2 separate regions of the Homo sapiens genome follow, and region 1 is linked to region 2. Evidence: promoter capture Hi-C in 16 types of primary human blood cells and fetal thymus (Javierre and others, 2016). All regions are on one chromosome and are shown on one strand. Each heading gives the region's core, a stretch centred on a gene start or on the middle of the fragment in contact. The rest is flanking DNA. Distances are from core to core; before and after follow the strand shown. Region 1 overlaps LINC02795 (long intergenic non-protein coding RNA 2795). Region 2 holds the start of COL24A1 (collagen type XXIV alpha 1 chain).

Evidence for each region. The method cuts DNA at HindIII sites, captures the fragments that hold promoters and counts their contacts. A CHiCAGO score of 5 or more calls a contact.
Region 1: a fragment that was not itself captured here is called in contact with the fragment with the promoter of COL24A1 in region 2 in 1 of 17 cell types (megakaryocytes); the score reaches 6.1 in megakaryocytes.

The regions. Positions count from the first base shown.
Region 1 is chr1:86,287,139-86,292,694 of GRCh38, forward strand. LINC02795 (long intergenic non-protein coding RNA 2795) reads right to left here. Exons shown (of 4, transcript NR_187380.1): 4 at 1,569-2,001. Among named protein-coding and RNA genes, the nearest start is that of LINC02795, 30 kb to the right of the region's middle. The HindIII fragment of the contact is 1,393 bases long and covers 1,420-2,812 here.
Region 2 is chr1:86,153,476-86,159,607 of GRCh38, forward strand. COL24A1 (collagen type XXIV alpha 1 chain) reads right to left here and starts at 3,297. Exons shown (of 60, transcript NM_152890.7): 1 at 2,866-3,297. The coding sequence starts at 2,921. The HindIII fragment of the contact is 10,806 bases long and covers 1-4,597 here.

The sequences.
Region 1 (5,556 bases), core at 866-3,365, 130 kb after region 2:
ATACTTTGTGTTTAAGCCAGGTAAATGAATACCTACTCAAACAATTTTGATACATGTTTTTAAGTGAAAAAAAAAAACTCCTAATCATAACTAAAGAGTGAAATAGGAAGGTTATGTAAACAATTTGCCAACTTGCAGAAATAAATTTCACTGGTAAATCTGTTCATAATTTTTGTATATACTTAAATATCACTTTAAGAGGAAAATGCATTTGTGATCTCTTCAGCCTAGGTCAAATTCTTCTGTCATATACTTATGACACTTATATCCATTTACTTATGACACATATCCATTTATACATATATCCATTTTGTACTTCCTTGGAGCACTCTTAATAATTAGTTAAATAATCAACTACCAAGAAATTAATCTTCCATCCTAGAATGAAAGCATCAAGAGGGCAGTGGCCAGGCCAGCCTTGCTGACTTCTATATCTCATAGTGTCTACACAGAGGATGCTCTACATTGGAGGAGGAGTTGGTGTTTCAAAATCTAAATGTTTTATTTCTAGTAAGAGGGTAAAAATAGCTATGGCCATCTCACTGCTACTTAGGTAGAGGGACTGAGGAGTACGCTTTCTGATCTTTCCACTGCTCTGCGGCTTCCTGCAGGTATTTTTGCTTTAAGAAAAGAGAGGGGAGTAAGAGCCCATTTGCCCGGGACAACTGAAGTCTCAAAAGCTGATGATGTCCTCTTGAATAAAGTTTTGGAATTTTTCCCATGTCCATTTCTCTTTTCTTCTTTTACTAAGAGAACACCCCATGCCCATCAAGTTTTGGCTAGATTAATGGCTACTCCAGTTACAGGTTACATTTTCCACATTCTCTTGAGAAGGCTTTGAGTTTGGGTTTAGCTTCTAGGTTTTATTTTATTTTTTGAGACAGGGTCATGCTCTGTCACCCAGGCTGGAATGCAGTGGTGTGATCATAGCTCATTGCAGCCTTGATCAGTGCTCAAGAGATCCTCCCACCTCAACTTCCCAAGTAGCTGGGACTACAGGCATGCATCACCACACCTGGCTAATTTATTTCATTTTTTATTTTAATTCTTGTAGAGAACGTATCTCCCTGTGTTGCCCAGGCTGGTCTTAAACTCTTGGGCTCAAGTGATCCTCTTGCCTTGACCTCCCGAAGTGCTGGAATTACAGATGTCAGCCACCCGCCGGGCCTAAGTTTTAGCAACGACTTCTGCTTTACGTTTTTCAAAATAAAGTTGTTTGCCCTTCATATTTTCTTTTGTTCCGTTCTGTGGCCTGGAATGTGGAACCAGTGAAGTTAATGATCACTGGAGAAAACACTTTTGACCTAGAGAGAAAAGCCAAATGTAGAAGATGGCAGAGTTGCCCCAGCAACCTGGGTATCTAGATGACTTTATGGAGCATGGCCCAGGTATTCATCTTGAATTGTGATATGAGAAAGAAGCTTCTAACACATTTAAGCCCTTGTACTTGGAGCTGCTTTTCCCCCCTTACAGTGGTTTAACTTATTCCCTAATCATGGCAACAAATACTAGTGGGGTTCTTAGTGGCAGGATCTGTTTTGTAGAGAACAAAAATCCACTCTAGCTAGTTTAAGAAGAAAGGGATTTATTGCAGCCGTTAGGGAGCTTATAAAACTTTTTGGAAGGCCAAGGAAACAATTTTGGATTATACACTGTCAGAAGTAATATAGTCAGCAGAAACATCTGGCTCACTACAGATTTATTCCAGAAGAAATCCCACTGTTGCCACTACCCTCTACAGAGCACAGCATCACTATTATCTATCTCCCTGGGTTATATGCTGGCTTGTTGATCTGCGAAGAGTATGGGAGCTGCCCATAGTGCTCTGCTGACTCGTCTCTCTGGATCATGCCACGGTGGGCTTGGGCCATGCCAGCGGAGACCCTGACTGTAGTTCTCTTTGCTTTCTCGCATTCACATCTCCTGTAAAGATGCTTTGTTTCAGTCTGTTGGAGTGTTCATTTGCTCTCACTGAATGGATGATTTCTTCTTTAGGAGTTCCTAGAAATGTGATGTTTCAAAAATTTTTGTTACAGGTTTAGCATGATAAAATGCTTTAAATGATAGATGTAATTTTCAGTAACAGAAGAGTCATACTGTCAGAATTCTGAGCCTAATTCCAGAATTGTCCTTGAAAGGACAAGATGTATTGTCAAGGAATGAGTTTAAGTAATAAAGTTGGCAAGTAGTCAACATAGATCAACTTTCCATTATTAACATTCTGAGCCATATGTGAAATGACTGGAAAACAGATCTTGGAGCCATAAGGCATTAAGACTTGTTCTTCCCTTCCTGTCAATTTAAACACAAAAAGCACTTTAGGAAACCAAAGACACATGCACATTCATAAAGGGAAAAGGATTGGAGTGAACCTTTCTATTTTGCCTCTAATGCTGGAATATTCTTTCACATTCTTTCCAATATTTTACTTAGTTTGAATCCAACTACTTTCTGTAATATTCAAGACTTTCCTCAAAAGCATTTCATTCTGGGTCAACAAGGTATGCCATCTAAATCAGATTTTCACATAACCAAGAACCATCTCTTTAGAGTTGAAAACCTTTTTCATCTTATTTTTGACATAAATCTTTTTGTAGTCCATACATTTTAACCTTACTTATTAAACAAAAGATGCTCTCCGTGGTTATCTCAATGAATAGTCATTACTAGATAATGCTTTCAGAGTGAAATTCCAGCTACTTTCCAAAATTCTTTTCACTTCCTGCAGTAATGATAATCACTTTTCACTGGGACTCCCTCAAATATTTTTATGTCCCATTCTCTCTTCAAATGTATTGTTTATAACTTATCAAGCTTAATTGAAATGTGCTAAGTAGAATCAAAAGGCTCTGCATGAGAGTTTAAAAGGTCACCTAGGAAATAAGGAATTTAGCCAGAGTGCTATAGCTTTGTCAAAGCCATTCCATCATGCTTTAAAAAAAATTCTGGATGCATATCTCTACACCAGAGAATTGAGGAGTATAGAAATCTGGCCTTCAGAAGAGAGTAGTTTTACTATCCTTTTAGATACAAACTTTTTAAAAATAAAACAGTTTTATTCAGGTATAATTCACATATAACAAGTCACGTATATTTAAAGTATACAATTTGATTAGTTTTGACATATATACACATTCACCAAACCATCATCACAATCAAGATAATGAACATGTCCATCACCCAAAAAAGTTTCCTCATTCCCCTCCATAATTTTAAAGTCCAGATGCCCAGGAAACTGCTGATCTAATTTATGCCACTCTAGATTAATTTGCATTTTCTAGAATTTTAAATGAATGGAATCACACAGTATGTATGCTTTTTTGACCTTTTAAATTTTACTCAGCATAATTCTGCTATAGCATATATCAACAATTCATTCTGCTTTATTGCTGAGAAGTATTCTATTACATAAGTGTAACCCAGCTGTTTATCTATTCATCTGTTTATAGACATTTGGGTTATTTTCAGCTTTTAGCTATTACAAGTAAAGCTGCGAAGAACTTTTATATACAAGTGTTTGTATGGTGTTAGGAACCAAAGAAACTTAGAAACTGTTTTCCAAAGTGGTTGTATCATTTTACATTCTCAGCAGCAGTGCCTGAGAATTCTAGTTCCTTTATATTGGTATGGTCAATCTTTTAAATTTTAGTGATTCTGACAATGAGTGGTGCTATCCATTGTGGTTTTAATTTGCATGTCTTTAATGACTAATAGTATTAAATATATTTTCATATGTTTGTTTTCTATTCATATTGTCTCCTGACGTGGTTTAGGTCTGTGTGCCCGACCAAAAATTGTGTCGAAGTGTAATCCCCAATATTGGAGGTGGGGCCTGGTGGCAGGTGATTTGATCATTGGGGTGGATTTCTTGTGAATGGTTTAGTACCATCCCGTTGGTGCTGTTCTCGTGATAGTGAGTTCCTGTGAGATCTGGTTATTTAAAAGTGTGTGGCACTTCCCCTCACTTCTCTTGTTCCTGCTCCCACCATGTGAGATGCCTCCAGCTGAGCCTCCCTGGAAGCCCAGCAGATACTAGCGTCATACTTCCTGTACAGCCTGCACAACTATGAGCCAATTAAACCTCTTTTCTTAATAAATTACCCAGTCTCATGTATTTCTTTATAGCAATGAGAAAACAGACTTATATATAATCTTTGGTGAGGAATCTGATCAAATCTTTTGCCCATTTTTTAATTAGTTCATTTGCCTTCTTACATTAAATCTTGAGAGTTATTTATATATTTTGGATACAAGTTTATTCAAATATATCATATAGATGATATATCAGATATATGATTTGCAAGTATTTTCTCTGTAGCTTGCATTTTCTTTCTTTCAAGAAATAGAAGTTTTTAACTTTGATGAATTTCAATATATCATATTTCCTCTATAGATCATGCTTTCAGTGCTGTGTCTAAGAAATCTTGGCCTAATCCAAAGCAGCAAAGATTTTCTTTCTATGTTTCCTTCTAGAAGTTCTATAGTTTTAGGTTTCAGGTTTAGGTCTATGATCCATTTTTGGTGAATTTGTGTAAATGGTGTTAAGGAATGGATTGAGGTTCCTTTTCTTCAACTTTTGCTAAAAAGACTTGAAATTAGTTGTTCAAAAATTGGTGGGTGTACTTCTGGGCGCTCCATTTTTTTCTACTGATTCATTTCTTTATCTTTGCACTAGTACCACTAGTCTTGCTTACTTTAGCATTATAATAAACCTTAAAATCAGGTAGTGTTAGTCCTCTAACTTTGTTCTTTTTCAACATTGTTTTGGCTATTCTAGGTCTTTGCATTTCAAAGTAAATTTTATAATTGTTTTTATCAATACCTACAAAAGAGACTTTCAGGATTATGATCGGAATTTCATTAAATCTATACATTAATGGAGGGGGCAGGGTGAATTTTCTGACCCATGAGCAAGACATTTCTATTTATTTATTAGTTAGTTTTTGTTTTGTTTTTGAGACAGAGTCTCGCTCTGTCGCCTAGGCTGGAGTATAGTGGTACGATCTTGGCTTACTGCAACCTCTGCCTCCCAAGTTCAAAGCATCCTCATGCCTCAGCCTCTTGAGTAGCTGAGATTACAGGCATGTGCCATTACACCTGGTTAATTTTTGTATTTTTAGTAGAGATGGGATTTTGCCATATTGGCCAGCCTGGTCTCGAACTCCTGGCCTTAACTGATCTGCCTGCCTTGGCCTCCCAAAGTGCTGAAATTACAGGCATGAGCCACTGCACTCAGCCCATATCTCTCTATTTAGGCTTTCTTTAATTTCTCTCACCACTATTTTGTAGTTTTCAATGTGCAAGTCTTTCACAACCTTTGTTAGTTCATGTTTTCTGCTGCTATTGTAAATAATATTTTTACTAGTATGTAGAGATACTTTTGTATATTGATCTTGTGTCTTGTGACCTTGCTAAAGTCATTAGTTCTAGTAAGTTTCTTTGTAGATTTCCATGGATTTTCTACGTAGATTATCATGTCTGTGAATTGTTGTTCCTTCCTACTTAGTCTGTCTGCCTGTTACTCTTTTTCTTGCCTCATTGCAATGGCTAGAACAT
Region 2 (6,132 bases), core at 2,047-4,546:
AATAAAATTGTCTTTACTTCTCATTAGAGTTACAAATTCTAAAATAAGTCATAGTTGGAAGGCATGGCAAGGAAACTAGCACAGCTATTCTAATTCCCATAATAACATTTACTTTTATTCTGCCGTTCACAAATTACCAAGTAGAATGTCTAAATGACACTCAAAAGTACTTTCCATAAATTAGATTTACTCTCCCTGAGACATCAGCTTATTTTAAAAATTTATTTGAACACAAATATAACTAAGCAACTTTAAAAAATAGAATTTCGTGCCATCTAGGAAATAGATCTTTATATTCCAAAATTCCTTTTTGGTTATAAAAGTCTTTAATTACCATAATAGCCTGCCTCAGAGACCTTCTGATAATATGTCAAATTAAGGTATCTAAAGCTGACTTTGAGATTTCATTAATTTTATTAATTCTACAAATTCACGTTAGGCAACCCATATAAAAGACCCCACAAAAGAAAGTGTCGTAAAGATCCACTTTTAAACTGGAACTGTTTTTGGGTGACTAATAAGAACTGTGATTTTAAAAAGCGCTCCCTCTCTTACAAAACATCACCACAAAAGGAAAATAAAACTCAGGGATTTCATCAGAGACTCTAAGGTTTAATTCAGTGGCCTGACATTATAAATCAGCTACTTCTTCCAAATCCAGCCCCCCCGCCCCACCCCGCCTCAAACTCCGAAGGGTTGGTGGCATTATTTTTCAAAGGGAAAAATTCCAAATTATTTATGAAAATTGGATTTTCTAGAAACAATTTTTTCAGTCCAATCATTAGCTATCTTTCCCAAGTTTGCATGTGTGGTTGGAGCTGTGAGTTCTGTAATCTGATGTAATTATGAATTACCCTTAATTCTCTGCAGCCCATCCCCAGTGGCCCCTGTAACAGAACAAATTGGATATTATGAGATAACCAAGGGCTGCAAGGCCTCTGGTGGTCATGGGAGACAAACACCTTCATCCAGAACCTGCTACTTATCCCCATGTCTCTGCACAAGGGTTCTCTTCCCATTCCACGTTTTATAATTTTTCTTCAGAAGTTCCTCCGGTGCAATCCATTCTATTTGGTTTCTCTGCCTCCCTCCCCCCAAATCATCTGGACCCAATTTACAAACCCCAAACTGCCCAAGAATTTATGCAGGGCCTTTTCTGGGAGCGTCTGGAAGGGAAGTGTAAACCAGACAAGACAAAACCCAGGAGCAGATCTGCTTTAACTCCGGTGGTTGGTCACAACTACCAAGGGGAGTGTTAGTCACCAGCGTGGGCCTCGCGCGGTGGCAGAGGGAAAGCCCTCGGGGCAGGAGCTGCAGGAGGGCCGCATGCGGAGGCTGGCTGGGCAAGAAGTGGAGGGCCTCACTCCGCCTCTCCTGGAGTCTCCAGGCTGGCAGGGCTAGAGCCTCTCTGCATCCGCCCCTGATCAGCGGGAAGATCTGTCAGTTCCGCAGGATCGGCTGCAACCCCCGACTCTCCAGGCTGGTCCACACAGAGGGATGTTTATCGAGAACAGTGGCGGGAAATCTTCTGCCTGGGAACCCCATGCGACCTGCGTGAGCCGCTCTGAGAAGGCAACCCGCAGAGCTTGACCTCTACTCGCTCCAGGGACTCCCCAGCCTCCAGCACCCCGCTGCCCGCACGGGGTTGAGGAGATTGGGAGGTTTCCTCTTCACTGTTGCATGGGGATGGGGGTGTGCGGGGAGGTGCATGTGGTCAGCTGGGAAGCCCAGCAGCGAGGCTTCCAGGGGTCGGAAGAGAGCGCGCGCGCGAGCCCCAGCCAGGCTGGGCTGCACGCGGCTGGGAAGCACATGTTCATACAAACACGACCACAAGGCGCTCTTTCTCCGCACCCTGCCTCCGCCTGCCCTCAGCTGACACGGTCAATTCTGTTCCTTGCCCTCCTCCCACCTAGCCTCCTGAGGGGCAGCCTCTCTGCAGAAGACTTCCACAGCCGCGTTCACCCTTCTCGCCCAGGGGCCAGAAGCAAACTTGTGTAACCCACTGACCTCTTCCAGGGGGACCAGGGCATCCAGCCAAAGCCGCGCAACCCCTGGTCCGAGCCCTTTTCCCAGGGAAGGCATGGGAGCAGGTACAGCGCCCAAAGGGGAGGTGGGGTGCCCGTCAGGACCCGCCCAAAACCTCCGCAGGAGGGGCAGGCCCGCCCCCGTGTCCTGCTCCCCTCCCCAGTCCCCGCCGCGAGTGCCACTTCCCCAGTGACAGGGCAATGATCAGGGCGCAGCCTCGGCTCGGATGGGCAACGTTTGTTGGCCTTCTAACCAGAGGGGATTGCCTCTGAGCCCGTGGGTAAAACAACCCCCCGACGCCCGAGGTTCTGCAGCCACCCCCTTCCCCCCGCTGGCGACCCTTCCTCACGCCTGAGTCCAGTGGTCCAGGCTGCGCACACTGACCCTGGGGGACCTCTAGCGTCACAGCAATCGCCAGGCTGGACGCCCTGAGAAGCACCTCGGGGAAGCAGGACCTCGACAGGGCCCTGCGGGAGGAGAAGGGGAGGAGGGCGCGAGGGCGGCGGGAGCTGGAGCCAGAGAGATCGTCGGAGCCCAGCTCTGGAGCTTAGGGAGCCGCTGCCCTGGACCTCGGGACTCGCGCCAGCGAGCTTTTCCTCTCGAGCCAAAAGATCGCTTTAGCATAAACTGTCTGAGATCTGCTGGCACGAGGCATCCTTTCAAACACGGTATTTTGCAAGCTGAGAAGACAAGGGGAAGATACCGCGGGTACTCGGCCGCTCCTAAAGCCAAAAAGTGCCAAGGAGCCGGACTTCAGATCTCCATCAGGCTCAGCAGAACCAGGGGGTGGAGAGAGGGGTTGGTCTAACCCCTACCCTACCCGGCGGGTGGGCTACTTACGTTTTTGCCGTGGGGGAGACTTTTCCACGCCTTGTTCTGTGGGCTCTTAAATGCATTTGTATGCATTTGTCCGTGCAGCAAAGCGCTAACGGAAAACAGAAGCCAACTCTGAACTGCTTAGGGTGCAGGTACTGTCCATGAAAAAGGGAAAAAACAATCACATGAAAACCATGCTTCAAACCCGCAACAAGAAAAAAAGGAGGGGAGGGGGTGAAGTCGGGAGGAGGTAGGAAATAGCACCCGAAGGGGAGGACAGGCTTCCTAGCTCTCTGGCTCGGTAACGAACGAGCCCAGGGTTGCGCTCCCCGGGGAGGGCGGGCGAGGAGGTAAACCTCACTGGGAGGCCTCGGGGCGCCGGCGGCAGCGGGAGCCGGGCTGCTAGTGCAGCACTCAAGTTCACTTGCGGTTCAAAGGCGACTCTGTGACTCCAGTGGAGTCCTCTGCTTTGGGCCTGGGAGGAGAAAGGGGTGGGGGTAGGGAAGGAGATGAAGTGGGGGAGGAAGTCCTTGGAAACAGCCCGCGCCCGAACGTTTGTCAAACAAGCACACACACCCACTTCGGAAATCAAGTCGGTGCGAGGGGGCCGGTGGCAACTGCAGGCGCTCGGCGTTGACTGCCGCCGGCTGCTTTGCCTGGAAGAAGAGGAGCCAAGCAAATCCGGCCGGTGTTAAATTTCACCGCTCACTGACTTGCAATGACATCACCAAACACTGCGCACACCTCCCCCTCTGCCCCCGCAACCTTCCCCGACCCAGCGTCCGGCCCAGGCGCCCCCGTTCGCCAGCCCTTCGGGGTCGGGCTGGGCCACCGCACCCCGGGCGCGCTCGCCTCCGCCTGGGTACGACCCGGATGGTCTCCTTTCCCACTTATAGGCAGCTAGTATCCTTCCTTCCATACCATGTTCATGCTCCATTCCCCATCTCAGCAGTCCCCAATTTGATGTTTCCCTCTTGCTTCTCTCTCATCCCCAATCTTTTTCTCTACCCTTTTCACCCACATCTTCTGAAATCACACTTAGAGGAGGCCTTCATTACCCTGCGACCTTCTTGCCTTCTTTGCAGTTAGGCCAGTGGCCTACGTGGTATTATTAAATGACTTTAACTGTCCTCATTTCTACCTTTCCTCCCTTTACTCCTTCCTTTCAGTCTGTCCCCCTTACGACCTTCTACTGACTTTTCTCCTGTAATTCACCTTTCTGCCTTTTCCTGTCTACAAGTATTACTGGTTCACAGCAAGAGCACACCACACACACTACAGTCACACAGTCTCTCTCTCTCTCACACGCACACACCACTACCTTAACAATTTGAATACCTTCTCCAACTTTTGTAGCAAATTTCTTCTTTTGATACAAGTCTCTATGCCCCCATGGCCTTATACTAAGAAATCCACCTTCTGATTTTTGCAAAAACAAAAACAAACAAACAAACAAACAAACAAACAGAAAACAAACGTTCTGATTTTATCTTCCTTATTAATAAGACTGGAAACTCCAAGAGGCCAGGAATCTATTGTGTTGTTCATAGTTGTGTTCTTAGCACCTACCTGGCATATCTGTTGAATGAATGCTGCATATCACTGAGAATCATTGCTCCAAATTTTTCTTGTCTAGCCTGTGTGCCTTCCAGAGCTAATGACCCTTCCACATGCTGAAAGGGATCCCACATTACACACACATTATAAAGGTTAAAGTGATCATATTGGTGAATGACAATGATTGATGTGACTCTCAAGCTTGGTAATTTTTTAAATGCAAGAATATAGAAATTCATTATGCCCCCCTCAATTTTTTGACTGTTTATTTTGAAATAATTTTAGATTATAGAAAGTTGCACAATAGTACAGAGTTCCTATATATACTTCCCTCAGCTTCCCCTAATGTTAACAACTTACATAACCAAATTACAGTTATCAAAACTGGACAATTGGGCTGGGTGTGGTGGCTCATGCCTGTAATTCCAGCACGGCAGGCCAAGGCGGGCAGATAACCTGAGATCAGGAGTTCGAGACCAGCCTGGTCAACATGGTGAAACCCTGTCTCTACTAAAAATACAAAAATTAGCCAGGCTTGATGGTGCACGCCTATGATCCCAGCTACTCAGGAGGCTAAGGCAGGAGAATCGCTTGAACCAGGGAGGCAGAAGTTGCAGTGAGCTGAGATCACGCCACTGCACTCCAGCCTAGGAACAGAGTGAGACTCCAACTCAAAAAAAAAATAATAATAAAAAATAAAAAATAAAATCCCTGGATAATCAACACCAATATAATGCTAATAACCAATCTATACATCTTATTAAATATTGTCAGTTTTCCCATTAATGACCTTTGTCTGGTCCAGGATTTTACTCAGGATCCTACACTGTGTTTAATAAACTAACACAGTGATTAACTGAATTATTAGGTTTCCTTAGTCTCCTCCCATCTGTGGCAGTCCTGTCTTCCTTTGTCTTTCACGAACTCAACACTTTTGAAATGCACTGAGCAGTCATTTTGTGGAGGGTTCCTCAATCTGGATTTGTGTGACATAGTCTCATGATTGGGTGCAGGTTGTGTATTTTGGTCATAAATAACATTGAAGTGATAGTGTGCCCTTCTCGGGGCATCAATCTCAGGTGTACATGATGTTAATATGTCACCTACTAGTGATATTCACTTTGATCACTTAGTTAAGGTGCTCATCTCACAGGATTTGCCATTGTAAAATCTTCCCCCAGTTTTTGTAACAAATAACCACAGATTTCTGAAATATTCCTAGAAATCCAGGACTGAGGGAAGGCAGCCGTTCTTAAATGCCCTTAATTTCTGTTTTTTCTGCTTTTTCCTACTAGTCAGCTAAAGAAGGACAGCTAATTTGGTTTGATGGAAAGAACAATAGATGAAAATTGAGTAGACTTAAGTAACTCAATCTCTGTCTCCATTTTTCCATCAGATACACTTCAGGAATAAAGTCTTTTTTTCTGTTTGCAATATTGAGTCTGAAGAATAGAATGCTGTAGGAAATGAAGTTTTTAAAATGTATTTCAGGTTGAGTATAAGAAGATGACAGTTGCTAGTTAGAGTTAGTGGAACCTTTATCATGCAGAAGATTCCAAAGAGCACACATACCTTCAGACAGAGTACTTTATTTGGGGAGAGGAGGCATTTGTCCAGTAAAAGATAAACAATATAAGTTTTAACTGCTATAGACATTATAGGATGATGGAGATTAGCATAGATCAATTGATCAAGACAGATTAAGCAGACACCTTGTGACTTAGCTGGTCCATG